2 separate regions of the Homo sapiens genome follow, and region 2 is linked to region 1. Evidence: promoter capture Hi-C in human tissues and cell types (Jung and others, 2019). All regions are on one chromosome and are shown on one strand. The core of a region is centred on a gene start or on the middle of the fragment in contact, and the rest is flanking DNA. Distances in the headings are between cores, read along the strand shown.

Region 1 (7,436 bases), core at 803-3,302:
GACTATTGACAAGATGAAGAAGAACTGACACATTACTATTAGGCCAAGGAAGTTTGGCTAAGATGGATTTTATAAGAGCTCTTTCTTCTACCTACCAATAGAAGGGGCTCCCATCTGTCCCCCACTAAGAATTTCTCTGTGCTTCATCTATCTTCTTTCTGCTCACCACTGCCCCAGAAGGCCATGCTTCTCACTTTGAGAAACAAAAACTAAAAGAACTACATGTCTGCCCCAAAATGAAAACCTTTAACATGCTCCTGTAGTCACCAGTTCTCATAAAATACTAACCAATAGTTAATTAAGTCATTTTTGGGATGATTACCTGGTTTTTATTAGATCCAACCTGATTTTTAAGAGGTGCTAGGTGTAGATCGATAGCTAGCTAGCTAGCTAGATAGATATATAGATAGAACCTACTCCGGATAACTATTAAATGAGCTTACTCTCAGCCCACAATATCTTAAAAATAGATTATCTTTATTCTAACTATTCTCTTTATAACACATTTTCACCCAGTGGAATCAAGCACTGAAAATATGTGCTATGATTGCTTCATCTAAGTAACATAATGCCAGAAAACCAAATTGTAGTCATAGTGTTTATTTAGCAAAAATATTTTTAACTCGCTACTTAGCATCATGTAAATGCAACATCAAATAATCACTGAAATATGTCATCAAATATAATTAGCAAAAATATTTTTATCTGGCTATTTAGCATTACATATATGCAACAATAAATATTCATTGCAGCAAATAATCAAATATGAGTTTTTCTCTGATTTTAATCAAATTCATATAAAGACTATTTAATGATAGAATACAGCCTTTTCTTTTCACCTTTTCTTCTTATTAAATGCTAGGGAGCACAATTACCATTTGAACCTCACATTAATAAATTTTCAAGTCCTTTGCTAACATCAAAATAGTTTAAATTTATACCTATTTATTTTCCTAATCTAGGTTTCAGCAATTATATCACAATTTTCTGAAACGTTCACAAAGTTAATTTTGTTCCATTTTTCTCCAGTTACAAATACATACACATACATCTGTTTAAATTTCCACTCACCTTATTTTGATTGTATTTTCAAAATATATAAACGCTTTTTCTTGTCAAAAGGTGACGGTAAGTTATCTGTGTGAAATAGTTGTAGTAAAGGGAATTCTAGCATTTTTAACACAATAAATATCACTTTCTTCATTAAAGAATTCCAAAATGTAAAAAGCATACTTAAAGCTGCTTTGGGCCAGGCACAGTGGCACAAGCCTGTAATCTCAGCATTTTGGGAGGCCGAGGTGGGTGGATCACAAGGTCAGGAGTTCAAGACCAGTTTGGCCAACATGGTGAAACCGTGTCTCTACTAAAAATACAAAAATTAGCCAGGCATGGTGGTGGGCGCCTGTAATCCCAGCTACTCGGAGGCTGAGGCAGGAGAATTGCTTGAATCCGGCAGGCAGAGGTTGCAGTGAGCCAAGATTAGGCCATTGCACTCCAGCCTGAGCGACAGAGACTCCATCTCAAAAAAAAAAAATAAAAAATAAAAAAATAAAAAAAAACTGCTTTGAAGAAAGTGTTTCAAAGAGCAAAATCATGATGCAATTATTGTAATCTCAATGTCTGAAATCTAGACTACAGATTTTAAATATTTTCATTTTTAGGTATGCTATGATAATTAAGTACTATGAATTAGGTTACTGTACTATATAACAGTCAACTAAAATTGCAATCTTGTTTTATTAGTTTTTCAGATCTAGAACTTCAGCCTATGCAGCATGTGTCCAAAAAGAGGATCTTTTCTGTAACCACTAGCTGACACTAATTTTTTTAAATTAAGAAAGGAAAGCTAGATTACAATTATATACTCACCTTTCGGTGTCTTGAAATATTCCGGCAAAATTAAAATGAATGTGATCACTATTGCCACAAATAATTTAAGGAGGGCTGTTTTTGTCATGTCTCTTCACATGACACAAATGTGTTCCCTTGCAGTACATTCATGGTATGTTGCTTCCTGCTTTAAGTTTATCTCTGCAGCACTTTAGGTTAATGCAGTTCACCTCATACTCACTTCCTTTTGAGTAAGACTTAAAAAAAAAAAAAGGTCTTGAACTGAGACTTCACTTTTGAGTCACTTCCCATTAAAAAAAAAAACTACCCCCCAAATAAGCACTTTCAGACCATTTATTTGTCTTTCTAAGCAAGAAAGGTAAATAAATGATCTCAAGAAGCAAGGGGATCTTCTCCCCACCCAATTTATAAATATAAACCCACAGTATACTCACAAAAATAAAACGGTGGGCTGGGCGAAGTGGCTCACATCTGTAATCCCAGCACTTTGGGAGGCCAAGGCAGAAGGATCACTTGAGTTCAGGAGTTTGAGTCCAGACTGGTCAATAGAGCAAGCCCTCCTCTCTACAAAAATAATTTTAATATAGCTAGGTGTGGTGGTGCACTCCTGTAGTCCCAGCTACTCAGGAAGCTGAGGATCACTTGAACCCAGAAATTTGAGACTGCAGTGAGCCATGACAGGCCACTGCACTCCAGCCTGGGTGACAGAGTGAGATCCCTTCTCAAGAGAGAAAGAAATAAAAGGGTGAATGTCAGTCATGTCTAGGTTGCATGCACATGACTCATTCATTTACTTATTAAATGATTGTCGATCCTGTTTGGTGCCAGGTGCTGTGCTGAATTCTGGTGTTCAGAAAATAGTACATCTAGAAGATAGAAACATTTTAACCATTGCCAATTTAAAAGGAAAAAAAAGTATTGTTTAATTTGCATTTGTTTGGTTGACAGTAATTCTAAAGATTTTTAATATTTGCTGGCAATTTGAATTTCTTTTGTTAATTGCATGTTCATGTCTTTTATTGCAGCATTTATATCCTTCCTGTTGATCTATAAGACTTTTTTCTCTATTGGGAATATGAAATCTTTGCATATGTTTTGCAAACATTTTTCCCAGGTTGTCATTTGCCTTTTCATTTTGTATATGGTGGGAGTTTTTCCACCCAACTATTTTGTAACAGAGTATAAAACACGTACCTAAAAGTTTTATGCAGAGAAACACAGTTCTTCATTGTATTTCTAATATTACACGAAATAATGTATAGTTTATCAATTTAATCATTTATTCTTTTGTTTTTGTTTTTTGTTTTTTGAAACGGAGTCTCAATCTGTCTCCAGGCTGGAGTGCAGTGGTGCAATCTTGGCTCACTGCAACCTCTGCCTCCCAGATCCAAGTGATCCTCCTGCCTCAGCCTCCTGAGTAGCTGAGACTACAGGCATGCACCACCACGCCCAGCTAATGTTTTGTATTTTTAGTAGAGACGGGGTTTCACCATGTTAGCCAGGATGGTCTCGATCTATTGACCTCGTGATCTGCCCACCTCAGCCTCCCAAAGTGCTGCAGTTACAGGCGTGAGCCACCAAGCCCGGTCTCATTTATTCTTAAATACAAAGTTTACTTGCAGCCTGATTTTGGCTTCCTGAAATGCACCAAAACTCGGTCATCTCCCTTGAAGTGGCAACATCTGACTCTCTAACATCCTGTTAGGGTTGATGATAATACTAATGGCCCACATCTCCATAGTTTTGTTTTACAATTTCCAAAGCACTTTTACAAATATTAGATTATTTTTTAAAAACACAAATATTAGATTATAAAGGGGATTCTAGGAACTGCTAGAAATGGCTACAAATCTGCAATTACTTACCCACTGCAAGCTTCTCCTTCCTATTTCAATGAAGGAATAAGAGATTAACGAATCTCAAACACAAGAGGTTGTTGCTACTACGCTAGTGTTTAACTTTCCTAAGTCTTATATTTCATATCTGAGATCCAGGTTCTCAAAAATACTTTAATGTGTTTCTATTTCTAATCAAGACCAAACGTCTTAATTAAATAATTATGCATTCTGTGTTAGATACAAATGTTTAAAATTGAGAGGATCTTTTATATCAAGGAGGTGCTCTACCCTAGGAAAGCAAAAGCAATATACTTTTTAGAAAATTATAAATAGCAGCCTTAAAAAGGATAGTTTAAATTTAACTTCTACATATTTATTAATATACGAAATATACGCTTTTATATACTTTATATGAGTAATTTTTTTTCCTAGTTGAAACTGTCCTCTATCCCTTCACTATATTCTGTGGAAAGGTCTTTATTGGATCAACAGCAGCAGCAACAATCGATGGCATTTACTGAACATTTACTATGTGCTACTGCAGTGTTGAATGTTTTGTATGAATTATTTTATCCAATTCCCCAGCAACTCTCTCAGGGAGTTGCTGTTATTCCAATTGGATAGACAAAGAATATGGGGTATAGCGAAGTCAAGTAAGGGCTCAAAAGTCACATAGTTAATAAAGGGTGAAGCTAGGTGTCAAACCTAACTCTCAACCCAACACTCCATTATACCTCCACTGTCAGACTGTGTGGGAACATTTGTCAAGAAGGGCCACTTATAAAATAATAATCATAGCAAACACCAATACAGTTTTTACTATGTGCCTGATGCTGCACTAACCCAGGGTTTCTCACTGGTGGCACTATTGATATTTTGGGACAGGTCATTCTGTGTTGTGCGGGATATCCTGTACATTGTAGGATGTTCAACAGCTGGTTCCAGTAGCAGCCCTCTCCACCCCAGTTTTTATTTTTTTAATTAAAAAAAACAAAATTAAAAGACAGGGTCTCTATCACTTATGCTGGAGTGCACTGGCATGATCACGGCTCACTGTAGCCTCGAACTCCCAGGCCCAAGCAATCCTCCCACCTCAGCCTCCTGAATAGTTGGGACGATAAGCATGTGCCACCGGGCTTGGCTAATTTTAAATTTTTGTAGAGATGGGGCCTCACTATATTACCCAGGCTGGTCTCAAACCCCTGGCCTCAAGCAATCATCCCACCTCAACCTCCCAAAGCGCTGAGATTATAGGCATGAACACCACACCTGGCCTCCCCGCCCCAGTTTTGACAAACAAAAGAAAAAAAATGTTTCCAGATATTGTCAGATGTCCCTGGGGTGACAAAACAGCTCCCAGCTGAGAACCACTGCATGAAACGCTTCACTTATATTAGATCATTTAAAAAATTTTTTTTTATTTCCATAGATTTTTGGGGAACAGGTTATATGAGTAAGTTCTTTAGTGGTGATTTGTGAAATTTTGGTGCACCCATCATCTGAGCAGTAAACACTGAACCTAATTTGTAACATTTAATTGTTGTAACCACCTTATGAAATAGTTACTATCATTATTTCCATGTTAGTCACTTCAGGCCAGTTCTATTCTAGGTAACCTAATCAGCCAGAAAGTAAACTTAAAAGACAATCCATAACCTGGATCAGCCTAACTACTTATCTTTCTTTTCTTTTTTTTATTTTTGAGACAGGGTCTCGCTCTTTTGCCCAGGCTGGAGTGCAGTGGCACAAGCAAGGCTCACTGCAGCCTCAACCTCCTGGGCTCAAGCAATCCTCCCAACTCGGCTTCCTGAGTAGCTGAGACTACAGGCACACATCACCAGGCCCAGCTAATTTTTGTATTTTTTATTTTGTATTTATTTTGTATTTGTATTTGTATTTTAGAGAAGGGGTTTCGCCATGTTGGCCAGGCTGGTCTCAAGCTCCTAGGCGCAAGTGATCCACTCAGCCTCCCAAAATGCTGGGATTACAGGCGTGAGCCACCGCTCTTGGCCCCTAATTACCCCTAATTGTGTTACTGGCAGATAATCATCTACTTTGGCAACACAGCAATTCTTAGATTAACACATTTTTGTGGGGAAAAATAATCTCTTTTTAACAAGGTCTACCTGAGTATGGAGAGGGTCCCCGGAAATTCCAGTATCCTCATTCATTTTGTGGTCCATTCAAAAAATATTTACCCAACACTAACAAGACACTAGGCAGCGTCCTGAACGCTGGAGATCTAGCAGCAAGCACGCAAGGTTCTCACGCTCACATTCTAGTGAGAGCGTACATTCCAATGAGAGAGAGTAATTAAGTAAATAATAATTTATTTTCAGTTATTGTGGGTGTCCTGAAAAAAAAATCGGGCAAAGTATGAGGGTGAGATGTGCCAGCAGAAAGTTGGGCAGGGCACATGTTGGTTTAAATAAGGATGTTAATGAAGGCCTTGTCATTAATACAACACTTGGGAAAAGGCAAAACCACAGAGACAGAAAATAGATCAGTGGTTGCCAGAGGCTGGAGACAGAGGGAGGGGTTAATGACAAAGGGACATAAGGGAATTTTTAGGGTGATGGAAATGTTCTATATCTTGATTATGGTGGTGATTATACAACTGTGTGTTAGTCAAAATTCTAGACCTGTACCCTGAAAAAGATGTACATCATTTACTGTATATAAATTATAATTTAATAAACATAATTCTGTCTCTCTCCACTCACACAGCCTGTTTGCTATTTTAGAAACAGATAATTAAGAAAGGGGCTGTGGTGTCTCTGAGGCTGGCGGCTCTCCCCTGGGCTGGAGCTTGAACTTAATAGAGCAGAAATCTAGAGAGAACCTCTGAGCAGGCCAACAGGAGACAGCAGTGGTACCTTCAGTGGCTGTGGCAAGGTTGCGGCAAAGAACTCCATGACATGAGTGCACACAGGAGGTCACCCCTTCAACAGCCAGGTTGAGTCAGCCCCTCAGAGAACCGGAAAAGGTGCTCAGCACTGCTCAGACCCCAGGCTGCGGGTCACTGAGCTGCCTTATCTTTGTTCACTCAGTGCATTTCTTTTTTATCATTATTATTTTGTTTTTTTTGAGATGGAGTTTCGCTCTTGTTGCAGTGAGCGTGATCTCAGCTCCCTGCAACCTCCGCCTTCCAGGTTCAGGTGATTCTCCTGCCTCAGCCTCCGGAGTAGCTGGGATTACAGGCGTGCGCCACCACGCCTGGCTAATTTTTGTATTTTTAGTAGAGACGGGGTTTCATCATGTGGGCCAGGCTGGTCTTAAACTCCTGACCTCAGGTGATCCACCTGCCTCGGCCTCCCAAAGTGCTGGGATTACAGGCATGAGCCACTGCGCCTGGCCCACTCAGTGCATTTCTCCTGTAAGTGGGGAAATATGGTTTGACCTGCCACCACCGGGTTTAGAATCCTCAGTGGGCAGAGTTTGCCCCAGGCCCTCACACTCAGGCCTCCTGAGACGTGGCTGGTCTTCTCATGCGCAGCCCACACAGGGCTGCTTGGCCCATTGTGTCCTGACCCCAATCACCTGTGGCTGGAAAGGCAGTTTGTTTTCACTAACAAAACCCCCTGCACTGAGACTGCAGCTTAGACAGGAAAGAACCTGTTGGAGCCTCTTTCCTCAAAAGAACTATGAGTCAGGCTTGTCTGCCCAGCTGTATACTCACAGAGTTGCGGGGACAAGGAGGGAAAACCACCCTGGAATGGATTCTGGAACCACTGTGGTATATTTCAG
Region 2 (7,436 bases), core at 2,186-4,685, 140 kb before region 1:
TTTCTCTATTGCTTATTAAGGGGATGGCTATGCCTTGAGTACCACATATGCAGATGACAAATTTAACTAAATTCAAGTAGAGGCGCCTGTTTTGTTTTCTGAACAGGATGCTATCTCTTCACAAGGGTGAGGACAAGCACCTGCAGGCATCCTCTGTCCTTGGAAAAATGTTTGAACTTAGTGGCTATCAAAAGGATCTTGCCACTGGTGGCACTTAGAAGTGACATGCTTTCTAAGCCAAAAACTAAAAAGGAGGTTCTAAAAGATTGTTTTAATTGGAATAAGTCATGAAAAAGTAAATAATATGGTCACTAAAATTATACAGCTCTTCTCGTGGTTTATATCATAAAACAGTCATGTGTCCTGGATGTTTCCAGTTTTAACCGCATCCAAACCACTCTGGTTTATAATGAATTGGTGGTTCGAGGGTTCTAGTATAGATGGAGGACTTACTCTTTCATTAAACTTTTAAATATAAGTTCCTGCCACAGTAAACACAGAAATCATCTGCTCTGTGGTAGCAGCTATAGGTGCTCTCTGTGCACACTTAAAGGTGCATCTCCCTGTAACTGCTCTAGCCCTGGTTGGTCAGACCATTTGCTGTTGTTTCTCATTCAGTGTCTGTACCTCATTTGACTTTGGGCTTTGTTGGACCCTCCCAAGGTTTTCTGTCCATGAACTGACAGCTCTCCCATTGAATTTACTATCCAGCACCTTCTTAGGTGTCTTGCTATAATCTGACCTTTGCACACATGCAGCTTTGGTTCCAGTGGATGGTGCTCCAAGGCCTCCGGGTTTTGTCACCTGGTTCACATGTAACCAGTAGATGGCGCTGACTTTACTGCTTAAAAAGTGGGATGTGGCCAGGCATGGTGGCTCACGCCTGTAATCCCGGCACTTTGGGAGGCCGAGGTGGATGGATCATTTGAGGTCAGGAGTTCAAGACCAGCCTGGCCAACATGGTGAAAACCCATCTCTACTAAAAATACAAAAATTAGCTGGACGTGGTGGTGGGTGCCTGTAGTCCCAGCTACATGGGAGGCTGAGACAGGAGAATTGCTTGAACCCAGGAGGTGGAGGTTGCAGTGAACAGAGATTACGCCCCTGCACTCCAGCCTGGGCAATAGAATGAGAGTATGTCTCAAAAAAAAAAAAAAAAAAAAAAAAAAGCAGGGTGTGATTTTTCACAGCAGGTCCCTTTTGACTTGATCCGACGTCATTGTCTTAATCTGCGGCCTGTGCTTGTGTTTGGGGTTGCTCTTAAAGTTTCTCTGTGTCTGAGCCACCATGCAGATAATAAATACTGCATCTTGTTACTCTCACAACAATTTATAAATTGTGATGGTTCGCATCTGGCTCTGAGTAATCATTGATCCAGAAGAGCCTAGAGAGGTAAATTCCTGTAGGCCATCATGAGCATTGTGCCAGTCACATGGTCACTGTGCCATGAAAAATAATATCCCGCTTTTTAAGTAGTAATGTCAGCACCATCTACTGGTTATATTTGAACCAAGTAACAAAACCTAGAGGCCTTGGAGCACAGTCCACTGGAACCAAATCTGCACGTATGCAAAGATCAGATTACAAAAGGACACCTAAGAAGATGCTGGATAGTAAATTCAATGGGCGAGCTGTCAGTCCGTGGATGGAAAAACTTGCCACTTTTCTTCTAGGGTGAGTAAACACGTGGTTTCTCTGAGAGTGTATGACATTTGCACATTCCTCATGCAATATCAGAATGAAGTTCAGTATACCCTCTTGTATTAGTTTCTGTTGCTATGTAAGGAATTACCACAGTTAAAGAGGCTGAAAACAACATGCATTCATTATTTTACAGTTTCCGTGGGTCAAGAGTTCAGGTATGGGACAGCTGCTCATGTAAAATAATGTGAGCTTAACAGGCTAAAATCAGGGTGGCAGCCAGCTGTATTCTCATCTGAGGCTCACTTTTACCTGAGGCAGCATGGCCCTGGGGTTGACACTATGCTTGTACATAATGGAAGTTGTTCCTCGCTTGCCTCTCTCAATCCCAAGATAATGGCTCAACATAGACCACAGATCAGGAAGGCACCCATAACTTTAAAGTCTCTGGAGGATAGGGTGGTGCAGCTAGAAGGGGGCCCAGAGTCGAAGATGAGGCCAGTGGCTCTGCCAGCTGCTCAGCTGGCACCTCTGCTTTGAAGACGTCATCTTTCAGGGTCATTCACGTTGTTGGCAGAATTCAGATTTTGAAGTTGTAGGACTGAGGTCCCTGTTTTCCTGCTGATTATTGACCAGGGCTCACTTTCAGCTCTTAGAGGCTGCCCTCAGGTCCTCCTTCAAAGCCAGCAGGAAAATCTCTCTCATGCTTCAAATCGCTACCTTCAGGAAGGGCCCCTTTGTTTTAAAGACGCTCCTGATTAGTTCAGGCGCACTAAGGATGATCTCTCTTTTGAGTCACTGAAATTCAACTGATCAAGGACCTTAATTACATGTGAAAATTCTCCCCATCATTGCTGGATAGAGTAACCTAATCACAGGGGTGAAATCCCATCCTGTTTACACTCCGGCTCACACTCCAAAGGGAAGGGATCACATAGGGTGTATACATCTGGGGACAAGAATCTTGGGGCCGTCTCTCAATACGGTCATGCTTCACTTAACAATGGGAATACCTTCTGAGAAATGGGTCGTTGGGTGATTTAATCATTGTGCAAACCTCCAAAGTATACACAGACCTACACAGCTAGGCTATGTGGTAAAGCCTATTGCGCCGAGGCTGCAAACATAGGACAGCTTATTACTGTACTGAATACTGTAGGCAATTGTAACACAATAATAAGTATTTGTGTATTTCACACATCTAAACATAGAAAAGGCACAGGAAAAATACAGTATTATGATCTTATGGGACCACTGTCATAGATGTGGCCCGTCGTTGACCGTAAGTTTGTCATGTGGTGCATCCCGCCTACCTTAATTCTCTTCTCGTCTCTGTTTGAGATCTTTGTCAGTTACACCACCAATTACAGAACCTTAGTATTTTCTATGGTTCTGGCTACATGCTGGAATTTTGAAAAGCAAGGAAATCTTGGCATTTTTCTCTTGTTTGCATACAAAATGGCAAAGGGTACATGAGGAAAGTCATTAAAATTTTGAAATATTGATGCTCATTCTAAAAGTCCCTTTGGAGAAATTTTAGAGCTGTCTTTAGAAAAGCAGGTACTAAAATTGTTCATCACCACTGATCATCACTACCCACCTCCTCCCCCCAAAATGAATGCAATAGAAGTATAACTGAAAACCCTGCCTAAATTGCTCTTACTGCATATTTTGGAGATTTCTGATGAGGACATGCTGTGACTTTATGTAGTAATAGTAGTTAAAACAAAAGCAATGTATATTTCAAAATTGGACAAGTGTCTTTGTAGACCTGTACAGAACTAAAGCATGTAGCCTAACAGGAGGCTGAAGTCATGGGTTCCCAGGCTGGAAACAAGCACTGGTGGTTGGGAGTTTGACTGCTGAAAGGTAAGAGGGATCATAAGTTGCCCACACATGGAGCCAGGCTCACAGCCTGAAACAGGTTGGAATGGGGCTCAAAGATCTGTGAACAGAGAATTTAAAGTTATGTGTGCCTTCCTGATCTGTGGTCTATGTTGAGCCACTATCTTGGGATTGAGAGAGGCAAGCGAGGCACAATTTCTGCTATGTACAGGCATAGTGTCAACCCCAGGGCTTTACAGCATTAGCAGTTTATTATCATCAGGCAAAGAAACTTATTGGAAAACAGATCATTCACAGTAGTAGACAAGCTTTGAAGATTTATAAATTGCCTGTGGAAAGTAAGGAAAGAAAATAACCACATGTTCAATTGCAATTGATGTCTACTCAGAAACCTCATGTATACCCCCAGGGTAATTCCAGCTGCAGACAGGGGTGCAAAACATATAGACATTAACAAAACACAGAGCTGTCAATTGAGCACTAGAAATGGAAACCATTACCTCTAACAGTTGTTGAAAAACTGCAGTTAGAATAGTTAGAACTGTTGAGAGTTGGCAGGAGAATAACAGGAGAATAGAAACAATTGAAAAATGGTAATCTCTTGGAATGAGCACTGTACCATGAGTCATAAGACCTGAGACCTGGTCCTGAATGCTGCTAACTTGTGATCACAAGGCACTGTTACTAACTAGCTACACTGTGCCCTTAACCTAAGACTCAGGTTCTTTGTATGGAAAAACGTGGGTGAAAAAACTGGAGAAATTCTAAGGTCTCTTCCAACTTCCAGAATATGTTGATACCATATCCTGTGTCTATGCATAGAAGGAGAAAGATATTTGTGCCCACTGTGCTAAGTGGAAAAATACAGAAAATTAATTGAAATTATGTCTACTCTATTTTTATATTTTATCTTTTGCCTCAATACTCTTTCACTCTGAGGTTAAGGGAAAATGAGAAAAAGTGACCTTCCTAATGCTTATACAAAATCAAACATTTTTCAGCCAACAATTATTTTGGAGAGGACTTAACTCTTGCATTAGGCTCAACTACAGCTACACTGTCATCACATTCTTAGAAGATTTGATCACCTGTCACCCATGCCTTTGGACAAGTTTGTGAAATGAAGTAAGCTTGGTTATTATTTCCAGGCAGACACAAGAATAGAAAACATTTTAGAAAAGAGGGTTTTTGGGGAGGCTGAGGCAGGTAAATCAACTTGAGGTCAGGAGTTCAAGACCAGCCTGGCCAACATGGCAAAACCCCATCTCTACTAAAAAAAAAAAATACAAAAATTAGCTGAGTGTGGTGACATGCCCCTGTAGTACCAGCTGCTTGGAGGCTGCGACAGAAGAATCGCTTGAGCCTGGGAGATGGAGGTTGCAGTGAGCCAAGATTGCACCACTGCACTCCAGCCTGGGCAACAGAACAAGACTCTGTTTCAAAAAAAAAAAAAGAAAGAAAAAAGAAAAGAGGGTTTTGATAGTAGTTCCAAATCCCACAGGATCTTATAGACCTGACTTGCTTCCAAAATGTATTACTAGGCTAAGAGTGATAGACCAGTAGTCAAAATGAAAGTCAACAATGCTAAAACATGTATAAGTATACAAAAGGAAGAGCTCTATAGTAGAATACAGTAATTTATTTCTAGATACCACCAAAGGCTTAAATGTTTATTTGAAATTCTAGTTTTGACAGTTTTATGAGTTTAAACATCTTATGCAAGAGTACCTGAGGTTGGGGGTTGGTGTGTACGGAATGTACCTGATATGTATATTTACTTTTTCCAAAATTATCATTGTTCCCCTTACTCATCCTCTCCCAAGGTACATAGTTTTTTCCTTCTGCACATTTTAATGAAACTCTTCTAGCAGCCCGGTCAGAAATGACAGTGTTTATTACAGAGAATGGCAAACTTGTCAAAATGATACTACGATGAGAAATCATCACCGTATAAATCACTGTCGATAGCGCATGGATTCATTTTTGAAGGTGACATTGCTGATGATATGAAATTTCTCAAGGAACATTGAGACAAAGAGAATAGGAATAATGCTTAGAGTTTGTCCATCGTCCTTTAGATTCTATGAATAAAACACAGGGGTTAATGAGTTTCTGTTGGACTTCTGGGCAAATATCATCAGTTCAGTAACACTTCTTGTCTATTTTGAGCCTAAAGGGAAGTAAGCATCTGATTACAGAGTGGACATCAACCATCATATGGAGAGGAAAGACTATTCCAAAGGAAGGTTGATTGGCTCCCTTTTTGCTGCACTATAGTTCGCTTTGGTTGAGCATGGCAGTATCAACTTGTGCTTTTCTGAACAATTGCTCTTCACAACTTTTTATAATATCTTGAACTCATCTATAGAAGAGTCTGAAACACAGTCAGTACTTTATATATATGAGTAATATATATGTTATATATATGTTATATATTTATATGTTATATATTATATATGTAATATATATGTTATATATGTAATATATGTTATATATGTAGTATAAGTTTCATATATATGTTATATATATATATATAGACAGATATATCTATCTCCATTCAGTGGAATACTATGCAGCCATTAAAAAGACCAAGGTAGATCAGTTTTCTAGGTTGGATGCCCAGCAGAGGGATGAGTCAGAAATTGTGTGCTGGAGTTTTACTGTGAAGTGCTTTCTGGAACAAGCTTTGCAAGAGAGCAAAGGATTGGGAAGCAAAACTAAGCCAAGGGAGAAGCTGAACTGCAGTGTCGTTACAGCAGAGGTCTTAACCTATCCCATTGGGAGCTTGGGGTTTGGGATGACTCTTAGGAGATGTCTTCCATTAATCCACAGCACCGGGCCTTTATATCAACAGCTCCCTCATTGACCAGTCACTATAGTATAGTCTTGGTGGAACCAACTCCCTTTGGTCAAGGGCAATTCAAAGGGAGGCATTTATTTAGTTGAGCGCTGTCAGTAGACAACACTCCCAGAATCAAGGAGAATGAGCACTGTGATTCCAGGCAGCACATAGCACACAGCACTATCTGTGTGTGCTGAGACTTCAACTGTGAACTGCCAAATGGGAAAAGCCAGGTCCAGAAGACTTATATTTAGGTAAATATGCTTTTATATTCTTGAAAGGAATCACAAGAAATAATTAGAACTGTTATCTTTAGAAGGAAGTCTTTCAAAAGCTCCAAGCATTGCTTTTTTTAGAAGTCACTCCTATATCAGAGCAAATACATTAGAATGTACCCACATTTTTCATTAAATTTCCTACACACACACACATATGTAACTATGTAGGAGTTGAATTTCTTTGAATGATAATAGACCAGCTGATCCAATATTACATTTTGAATACATTTAAGTAAATATTAATTACTATCTAATTTGCAATTTTTTTTTCTTTTAAAGCCATCAGTTTTTGCAGGCCTTACTTATTTCCACAGGACCTTATAAGCTCATACACTCTATTGCTTATTACGTTACTGGAATCTATCTAAGCAGAAAGAGGCTGGCCCACCTTCTGTTATCTATGTTTCTATACTCTTTGGACTTGCTAATATTATGAAATTTTTATTTTTTAAATCTGCACATGAAAACATGCTCAACACCACTAATCATTAGGGAAATGCTAATCAAAACTATGATGAGATAATACCTCACACCCATTAGAATGACGTTTTGAAAATTTTTTTACCACTAATATTTCAGTATAAGAATGACGATTATTTTAAAAAAAAAAAACAGAAAATAAGCGTTGGTGAGGATGCGGAGAAACTGGAACCCTTGTGTGCTCTTGGTGGGGTTATAAAATGGTACAGCTGCTGTGGAAGACAGTACAACAGTTCCTCAAAAAACTAAAAACAGAATTACCATATGATCCACCAATTCCACTTCTGATTATATTTCCAAAAGAATTAAAGGCAGGGTCCCAGGGAGATATTTGTACACCCATGATCATA

Evidence for each region. Contacts are between HindIII fragments. The study calls those that stand out against the background at their distance.
Region 2: a fragment that was not itself captured here is called in contact with the fragment with the promoter of TMEM156 in region 1 in 1 of the 25 tissues and cell types used here (H1 embryonic stem cells).

What each region holds. Positions count from the first base shown.
Region 1 is chr4:39,030,357-39,037,792 of GRCh38, forward strand. TMEM156 (transmembrane protein 156) reads right to left here and starts at 2,053. Exons shown (of 7, transcript NM_024943.3): 1 at 1,870-2,053. The coding sequence starts at 1,957. RefSeq lists an enhancer at 6,571-7,100. The HindIII fragment of the contact is 30,825 bases long and covers 1-5,857 here.
Region 2 is chr4:38,893,020-38,900,455 of GRCh38, forward strand. The region is part of intron 4 of FAM114A1 (family with sequence similarity 114 member A1); the gene reads left to right. Among named protein-coding and RNA genes, the nearest start is that of MIR574, 29 kb to the left of the region's middle. The HindIII fragment of the contact is 3,916 bases long and covers 1,478-5,393 here.